Linked DNA regions of Homo sapiens: regions 2 and 3 are each linked to region 1. Evidence: promoter capture Hi-C in 16 types of primary human blood cells and fetal thymus (Javierre and others, 2016). All regions are on one chromosome and are shown on one strand. Each heading gives the region's core, a stretch centred on a gene start or on the middle of the fragment in contact. The rest is flanking DNA. Distances are from core to core; before and after follow the strand shown.

Region 1 (3,048 bases), core at 269-2,768:
TCACCTCCAAAGCTCTACCACTAACAATCCAGGGGGCTAGACCCTAAGGAGAAACAAGAGCTCACCATTCTTCTGCAGTGCTTTGGCTGTAACTTTCTTGGCCAGTATCATAAACTGACTGTCCTCCCCAATTTCTTCTTCTTCTTCAGCTGTAATTTTCCCCTGCTGTGCCTGAAAAAAAAAAAAAATATATATATATATATATATATATATACAGCATTAAAAGTCTATAACCTTCCTAAATAGTTAGCATGGCCTGGATTGTGAAACTAGAGTTCCTGGGGTATTTGTTTTCCTTTTTGCAGCCTTTGCTGCTTTAGACAAAAAAAAATTAATCTTAGACAAACATGAAGAGAACTGTCTATGGTATAGCCTTCTCAAAACACAAAAGATAGCTCAAGGATTAAAAGAGATAGCAATATGTTGCCTAAGATTTTGAAACTATCATGACAAGCTAAGATTTTGAAACTATCATGACAAGCTAAGGGACAGTCTCATAAACTAGGGTCAGAGTAGGTGAACTCCTACCATGTCCCGAAGCCACTGCTCTCGTTCAATTCGCTCCTTCCTCCACCTGGCTTCTGACTCATCAAGCTGTTCTTCAGTCTGATCATCATCAGAGTCTCTGTGGAACAAGTCCATCTGGGAAGCATCATCTAAACAAAGAGTGAAGGTAATCAGCATTCGGCAGTCCTCACAGGAGAGGGTGCTTGGACAGACAAAAAATAAACCCTTATCATTTACTATATAATGATGTAAACTTTTCCCATCCATTAACAGAAAACAGTTACAACTAGGTCTTCACATAGCCTGTTATAGTTTTGCTTGCCATTTGCCATCTGAAACTCGACAAATATGCATTGTAACTGTTTGCTTTTTTTTTTTTTTTTTTGAGATGGAGTCTCGCTCTGTCGCCCAGGCTGGAGTGCAATGGCATGATCTCTGCTCACTGCAACCTCCGTCTCCCGGGTTCACGCAATTCTCCTGCCTCAGCCTCCTGAGTAGCTGGGATTACAGGCGCGTGCCATCACAGCCTGCTAATTTTTGAACTTTTAGTAGGGACGGGGTTTCACCATGTTGTTCAGGCTGGTCCTGAACTCCTGACCTTGTGATCCACCTGCCTCTGCCTCCCAAAGTGTTGGGATTACAGGCGTGAGCCACCATGCTCAGCCCGTAACTGATTGCTTTTAAAGACAACAACCAAGATACCTATGTTTTTCCATCGAAACTTCCTCATTCGCCCAGGACCATCGCTGTGCAGATCCCCATCAGCAAGGTACCTCTCTTGGTATAAACGTAGCTGTCGCTTATCATCATCCAACATAGTTTTCCTGCAACAGGAGAAATAAGGTGTTCAAAACAAGGACCATTCTGGCTGGTTACAGGGCTTGTCTTAAGATGTACCCTATTACTCAGAAGGGCTTATTGGGATACTGACATGTGTATTTTCTTGATTTGACTCTGCAGTTCCTCATCAGAAGGAAGTACTTCATCAATTACGTCCTCTTCATATTCATCAATTTCTTCCCCATCATACTCATCTTCGCTTCCCACATCACTTCCTGACACCTCTGCCTCATCCTCCAGGTATTTCCTCAACCTCCTAGAAAGCAATTTTGAGGATTAGAAAATGCAACAATGAATATACTCACAGAATATGGAAGCAAAGAAAAGCAGAACAGAGTCACTTCTAATAATAATAAACATAATACATTTGATAATATTTAAATTTTTTTGTAATAGTCTCCACTTATGATGGTTTGACTTAATGATTTTTCAACTTTACGATGACATGAATGTGATACGCACTTAGTATGCTTCTCGATTTACGATGGAGTTATATCTGGATAATATGAAAGTGCATTTTCAACTTATGATGGATTGATCAGGATATAGTCCCATTGTAAGATGTGGAGCATCTGTATTTAAAAGTTGATCACTTAATATGTCTTGTGTGCTAATAACTGTGCTTTACAGGCATTAACATATTATCATAGGAATGGGTACTATTATTCTCTTCATTTTACAGTTGAGGGAATTGAGCCTCAGAAAGATTACATTTACCCAAGGTCACATAGCTAGAAGGTAGCAGAGCCTGGATTCAACTTAGATTGGGTGATTTGAAAGCCAGAAAACTCTTAATCTCTTTTACATGTATTAGAATACCTGCTGGAAGGTTCAAACTATTTCATTTTGCATTTGAGCACACCAGCTTTAAGAGACAAACTAGAGATGGTGTGGTGTAGAAAGGTAATAAACTGGGATCTTCTTACAGCCTAACAAATCTTGACCCCCACATCAGAAGGAAGACTAAGGCTCAGAGCTCCTGGTAATCAAAACGACTAGTTACTTCTTATGACTTCAGCTCCCCCGGAGAATAAATCTGGTGTCACCCTGGATTCAAAGTCACCTTGGTCCCATGTGGTCCAAAATGGCAGAAGTTTGGTGGCTTTCTGAAAACTGATTTTTATCGAAGACCTATACTGTATTTTCTCTTTTTTTTTTTTTTTGAGATGAAGTGTCGCTCTGTCGCCTAGGCTGGAGTGCAGAGATGCCATCTCGGCTCACTGCAACCTCCACCTCCTGGGTTCAAGTGATTCTCATGCCTCAACCTCCCGAGTAGCTGGGATTACAGGTGCGTGCCACCATGCCTGGCTAATTTTTGTTTTTTTAGTAGAGATAGGGTTTCACCATGTTGGCCAGGGTGGTCTTGAACTCCTGACCTCAGGGGATCTGTCCATCTCAGCCTCCCAAAGTGCTGGGATTACAGGCATGAGCCACCACGCCCAGCCTATACTGTATTTTCTTAAAGCTAAGTTGTTCTAAATCCTAGAGTTCCTGGAAAATTCCTTCAGAGGCCACTAGTCACTAAGTTTCCCAAACTTCCCACTTACCATCTTTGAACAGTTCAACTTTTATCTGTCATTCTTTAAAAGATTTTATTTGAACAAAGAGCTCTGCAGAGAAGAACCACTACCTTAGAAAAATCTATGGATAACCTAAAGCTGTATGAGAGTTAATTTGATAGGTGATAAATTAGAACCCAAA
Region 2 (3,042 bases), core at 1-2,500, 130 kb before region 1:
TTCATGCTCATCATAGCCAGCCAGGAGGAGGTTCACATGATATGGGGTCTGCAAAGAAAAGATATGGCAAAGTGATAACTAAAGCAGAACACCAACATCTCTTCCCATGGCAAATGAGAATATTCTGACTCTTCATGAGAAAGAAAATATTAGCAGCAACTGAGTAAATCACAATGAAAGTAAAAATGTAGGGAAATCTAGAGGACCTGGAGTATGGTAACAGGTCAAGGGACGTCAGCTTGTTCTCTTTGAAAGGAAGGGCATTTGGAGCACTTTAAGGTATATGAAAAAGCTGCCATCTTCTTAAAGTCTATGGATGAGAACCTGTATAAAAGCACTTCTTCAAAAAGTATTTGATAGCAAAACAGAGTGACTATAGTTAATAATAGCTTAACTGTATATTTTAAAATAACTAAAAGAGTATAATTGGGTTGTCTGTCACACAAAGGAGAAATGATTGAGGTGAGAGATACCCCATTTACCCTGATGTGATTATTACACATTGTATGCCTGTATCAAAATATCCCATATACCCAATATATATATACACACATACGATGAACGCACAAAAATTTAAAATAAAAAAAAATTTTGCAAGCACTGCAAAGGCAAAGCATAGGTGCTCTTTTGTCATTCCTAATTGTTGAAACCAACGAACAATTCTGAGAATGCCAGGCCACTGACTGAAAAAAGCAGATGCTCCAACCACATCAAATGAAATAAACAAACTCAGTCTGGGCATCTGGACCAATCCCAAATGGTAAACTGCATGCCCACTACTAAAGAAACAACTTATAGCTGGGCACAGTAGCTCACAGGTATAATCTCAGCACTTTGGGAAGCTGAGGTGGGAGGCTTGCTTGAGCCCAGGAGTTTCAGACCAGCCTAGGTAACACAGTGGGACTTGGTTTCTACAAAAAAACTAAAAAATTAGCCGGGCATGATGGCGCGCACCTGTGGTCCCAGCTACTCAGGAGGCTAAGGTGGGAGGATCACTTGAACCAAGGAGGTCAGGGCTACCATGAGCCATGACTGTGCCACTGAACTCCAGCCTGGGTTCAAAAAAAAAGAGAAAGAGAGAGAAAAGAAACAACTCATGAGGTAGGGAGGGATAGTAAGTCTCTTTCTTTGTTGTTGTTTTTTTGTTTTTTTGAGACGGAGTCTGGCTCTTGTCCCCCAGGCTGGAGAGCAATGGTGCGATCTTGGCTCACCGCAACCTCTACCTCCCAGGTTCAAGCGATTCTCCTGCCTCAGCCTCCCAAGTAGCTGGGATGACAGGCGCCCTCCACCACACCCGGCTAATTTTCGTATTTTTAGTAGAGACAGGGCTTCATCATGTTGGCCAGGTTGGTCTCGAACTCCTGACCTCGTGATCCGCCCGCCTCGGCCTCCCAAAGTGCTGGGATTACAGGCGTGAGCCACTGCGCCCGGCCATAAGTCTCAAATATTTAAATCAAATCACCAGACTTAACTGAAAAGTAATTTTGAGACAAATAAAAAGCAACAAAAAATAATTATAACTTGGATTTATAGGTATCCTTTCTTTGTATTACCTGCAAATCTAAAAACATAAGTTTTATAGAGAACCATGACTGAGTCTGCGTTGCTCTTCATCTCCAAATGGATGATTTTTTTTTTCTACACCAGCTGCGCCATTTACCATGTTAAATTCAGTCTGTCTATGCCCCCAGGCATCAGGGGTGGGACTTCCATTTTATATGGCTTTCTTTTTCTCTGCAGGATGTGTTTCTCCTCTTGCCTTTGCTTCAGCGGGTAGTAAGCAGGCCTTGCCCATGGATATGTCCCCATCCCTAAATTTGTCTATGTATTTAATTAAACGCACAGTAAGTGAGACACCTCATTATGAAGCATGAAGTGTAATAGCTAATGGTCCTAAAAGTGGCATTTAACATTCTTTGAACACTGATTAACACGGCCACTTGGCAGCCTTAAAAAACTCATGGTTTTTGCTTTTTTTGGGGGGAGGGGTTGGGAGGGGAGTAACAGGCTTTTGTTCTGTCGCCCAGGCTGGAGTGCAGTGGTGCAATCATAGCTCGCTGCAGCCTCAAACTCCTAGGCTCAAGTGAATTTCCCACCTCAGCCTCCTGAGCAGCTACGACTATAGGCACCTACCACCATGCCCTGCTGATTTATTATTATTTTTTTAAGAGATGAAGTCTTGGCCGGGCACGGTGGCTCATGCCTGTAATCCCAGCACTTTGGGAGGCCGAGGCGGGCAGATTACTTGAGGTTAGGAGTTTGAGACCAGCCTGGCCAACATGGTGAAATATTGTCTCTACGAAAAATACAAAAATTAGCCATGCGTGGTGGCACGAGCCTATAATCCCAGCTACTTGGGAGGCTGAGGCATGAGAATCGCCTGAACCTGGGAGGCAGAGGCTGCAGTGAGCCGAGATAGTGCTACTGCACCACTCCAGCCTGGGCAATAGAGCAAGACTCTATCTCCAAAAAAAAAAGGAGAGAGAGAGAGAGAGAGATGGGGTCTCACTATGTTGCCCAGGCTGGCCTTCAACTTCTAGGCTCAAGTAATCCTTCCACCTTGGCCTCCCAAAGTGCTGGGATGACAGTCTTGAGCCACCGTGCCTAGCATGAAACTCATATTATATACTTACTTGGAATTCTAAGCCAGCTGTGCTAAGTAGAAAGGGTTCCTAACATCGCCTGGAGATTACAGAGTAGTCCTCACCTCCAAATAAGTTTCTGTTTTAGTGATAGGACAGTGGGTAGTCCCAGAGAGAAATAAGTTGACCAGCAGTCAAGACTTCTGAGAAAATAATTATCTGCCTATTGTATTTCCCAATGAGTAGCGTGCGGCACTCTGCCAAGCTCTGGAATTCTCTGTGCATTCTGAGTACCTTCTTAGTAAAGCTGACCTTAGGCAAAAAACTTAACCCCTATGAGCTTCTGGGTTTTTTTTTTTTTAACATGTAAAACTGGGTTAATTAATCTTTCTCCTTTCTATCTTCTAGGAAATATAATGAGAAAAAATAATAACGGTAAAACAACCCAAACTCTGGAAGA
Region 3 (3,376 bases), core at 559-3,058, 210 kb before region 1:
AAGATTGTGCCACTACACTCCAGCCTGGGCGACAGAGTGAGACTCCGTCTCAAAAAAAAAAAAAAAGAGGAAGAGGTACTCTGATCTCTCAGTTCACATGTTTAATTCGTGGGATTTTGACTGAGTTTTTAAAAATTAAATGTTATTTAATGTTGTTACATCATGTGTTCAATAATAAAAATACGAAAAGAAAAAAACAGTTCTTTTTCATCCATTCCCTGAATCATAGTTCTTTGTCTTAGGTGGTTAAAAGACAGTTAACATCTTAAATGATTCTAGTTTCAGCTCTAGGTCCATCATTTACCAGATAGTTAACCTTTGAAGAATAATTTAACTTAAGATTAAATTTTCAGTGTTGATACTCTTGGGACAAAGAGTTCATAAAAGGAGGAAGCAGAAAGGCATTGGTAGAGTCAATATTGGATTCTAGAAGTAACTGGGATAAAAGGTAAGATGAAAATATACTCCAATTTTAGATCAGTTCCTCTCCCTGCCCACGCTGCCATACCCTGGCTCTGCTCCCAGGGCCCAGGCAAAAGCAATATTAAATCTTTACAAAAAATGGCTTACAGTTGGTAGAACCTTAGACTGAAAATCTTTTGGGAAAGTCTGGAATGCACTGTTGGTAGGAGCATGTAGAAAGCTTACCCAGGGTGAGAACAGTGGAGCAAAGCCAATTCCCCTCTTTCTAAAATCATAGCAAAGCAGAGAAAGCAGTGCTCCCATATGTATTACCTGGAGGATCCCCAAAACAGGAGGCTCTGGAACTAGCAATGCTTACTTACATCACCACCTCTCAAAAGACAGAATTCTAATATATCTGGCACAAAATCTAGACCAGGTTTCATAATTCCAAGTAGCAGAGTGGAAAAGTCTACAGGATATATGAATTATTGCCAGAAGGAAATTCATTAAATACTTTTAGAAAGCTGTGAACAACTCTGGAAATATTTAAAGACAGTGCTGTTGGCTCTGGCATTCTTAAATCTCAGGTAATAAGCTTGGCTTCTCAAGCAAACTTGAAAACTGCCCTGGTTAGCAACCAAGTAGGGAGCAGAGACAGAACGTCCCCTGTTTCAGGAGTCATACTGTTAGTGTCCAGAAATGTAAATTCTAACTAAATTCATCAGACTGTATCCCAAAGGAAAGGCTGTGATGGTGGAAATAAGAGTAGAGAGAATGAGCTACCAGTATTATTTCAAAAAAGAAAAAAAAAGCAGTTGATAAATTCTTCTCTTCGGTGGGGTTTTCGCTGCAGAAACAAATACATGGTTAGAGTATTCTGTAGAAAAAATTTGCAATTAATATTTACCGTCATTGAAGCTAAAATTCTTTTCTTGAAATCTCACAATTTTCTAATATGGTCAAGACTTCATTCAAAGCTTTCCCTTGATAATTATACCTATAAATGAACTATTATCAAGGAGAAAGGCACAGCCTTAAATTTGTCTCTTTATTCAGTAATTGAACTATGGCTCTACACCATCTGTCTTCCTACAGCTATCATCAAAAGTATGCATTCTCTCAGAAGCAATGGGTCTCAGCCAAGATGGCTGCCACATGAAAATGAGATAAGCAGGCACATTATCAATCCCAAAAACAACTCACAGGAACCGTTCAAAAACAAACCTCCTCAGGGGGCACCCTCCACCTCCCTTTTGACTGTCAGCATGTCTGTCACCTGCACACCCACTAATAAACAAATACAAAAAAAATGGTTCCACCTTACTCTCCACATCAGTTCTACCCTGCAGGGGTTAGCACATTCAGAAACAAGGCAGAGGAGGTAACTAAATCCTTTGAAGGACACAATCAGGTATTACGAAGTTTGAAAAAAGCCAAGGTAATAACCATTGCCCTCTCTCCTCCTTTTCAAAAGGGGTAACATTTTTTTCCTCAACTACACACAGGTTGGATTGAAAGGTGGCAGCTGCCTCACAAAGCAGTCCTTTGAAAATAATTACTACTCACTGCCTTTGCTATGTGCCTAGCTTTGCTAAGAGTACAGTTTTTTAAATGTATGGTGTAGATGATTTGCTGAAACTACACTAACTGCTACACAAGAATTAATAGGCTTTGTGTACATATTCTGACTTCTTTCCCTTCACCGTGGTATTTCCATTTTTCCTAAAGATCATTCTGAACAAAAACAAACTCCTCATGGAACTACTTGCCCAACAGATACATATCAGCTACTATTCACACTAACTCTTGATTATCTGCTAGATGGAAAACAAGCTTCCAAGGACTCAATCACAAAACCTGAATCTTGCAGTACTTTGCTGGTTAAGAATGCTTACAACAGCAAGTCCTTTCCTATAACACTGTCACTAAAAAGCCTCAAAGATACTGGATTGTGACAAACTGTTGAAAAGAATAACAATCGGTGGCCGGGCGCAGTGGCTCATGCCTGTAATCCCAGCACTTTGGAAGGCCGAGGCAGGTGGATCACGAGGTCAGGAAATCGAGAACTTCCTGGCTAACACAGTGAAACCCCATCTCTACTAAAAATACAAAAAATTAGCCGGGCGTGGTGGCAGGCACCTGTAATCCCAGCTACTCAGGAGGCTGAGGCAGGAGAATGGTGTGAACCTGGGAGGCAGAGCTTGCAGTGAGACGAGATCGGGCCACTACACTCCAGCCTGGGTGACAGAGCGAGACTCCGTCTCAAAAAAAAAAAAAAAAAAAAAAAAAGAAAGAAAAACAATCACAAGGTCAGGAGTTCGAGACCAGCCTGACCAACATGGCAGTCAAAAAATCAGCCAGCTGTGGTGGCGCATGCCTGTAATCCCAGCTACTTAGGAGGCTGAGACAGGAGAATCGCTTGAACCCAGGAGATGGAGGTTGCAGTGAGCCAAGATCACACCACTGCACTCTAGCCTGGAAGACACAGCAAGACTCCGTCTTAAAAAAAAAAAAAAAAAAAAAAAAAAAAGAATAACAGTACCCAGTACCAGAACATCTCCCTAGAAGAGGGCAATATTTATAGGCAGAAGAGTAGGGGAAAGTCCTTTTACTCTACCTACTTGAAACAGAATACTTATACTTCACAGGCTAAAGAAAATATGAAAACCACCCTCATTTAGTCTAGGTGAGAAAATAAATTCATTCCCCAAGGTAATGTTCATACATGTCCCTCATAACATTGAGTTGAAATTTGTTTTCAAACAAAATCCCCTATCAAGATCAACAGCCCTATTCCACAATTGCTCTCTTCTATCTTTTGGCCCCCACCCCAAAAATCTGTGGTTAAAGCTTTAGTTCCTAAAGCTGAGATTCCTGCATTTGAATCTCAACCCAGTCACTTCCTAACTGTGTCATCTTGGGTCAAATTCCTTAGTTTTTTCATGTGTAAAACAGGAATAATTTTAACAGT

What was found. Contacts are between HindIII fragments. The CHiCAGO score rates a contact against its expected background, and 5 or more counts as called.
Region 2: a contact is called between a fragment that was not itself captured here and the fragment with the promoter of CLSPN-AS1 in region 1, in 2 of 17 cell types (M1 macrophages and erythroblasts). The highest score is 5.4, in M1 macrophages.
Region 3: a contact is called between a fragment that was not itself captured here and the fragment with the promoter of CLSPN-AS1 in region 1, in 1 of 17 cell types (naive B cells). The highest score is 5.7, in naive B cells.

What each region holds. Positions count from the first base shown.
Region 1 is chr1:35,737,927-35,740,974 of GRCh38, forward strand. CLSPN-AS1 (CLSPN antisense RNA 1) reads left to right here and starts at 1,519. Exons shown (of 2, transcript NR_199043.1): 1 at 1,519-1,587. CLSPN (claspin) reads right to left here. Exons shown (of 25, transcript NM_022111.4): 19 at 1,439-1,603; 20 at 1,210-1,331; 21 at 529-656; 22 at 66-171. RefSeq lists enhancers at 368-869, 613-1,812. The HindIII fragment of the contact is 7,776 bases long and covers 1-3,048 here.
Region 2 is chr1:35,609,361-35,612,402 of GRCh38, forward strand. PSMB2 (proteasome 20S subunit beta 2) reads right to left here. Exons shown (of 6, transcript NM_002794.5): 4 at 1-48. Among named protein-coding and RNA genes, the nearest start is that of PSMB2, 31 kb to the right of the region's middle. The HindIII fragment of the contact is 3,690 bases long and covers 1-3,042 here.
Region 3 is chr1:35,532,190-35,535,565 of GRCh38, forward strand. All of the region lies in intron 2 of KIAA0319L (KIAA0319 like), which reads right to left. Among named protein-coding and RNA genes, the nearest start is that of KIAA0319L, 24 kb to the right of the region's middle. The HindIII fragment of the contact is 856 bases long and covers 1,381-2,236 here.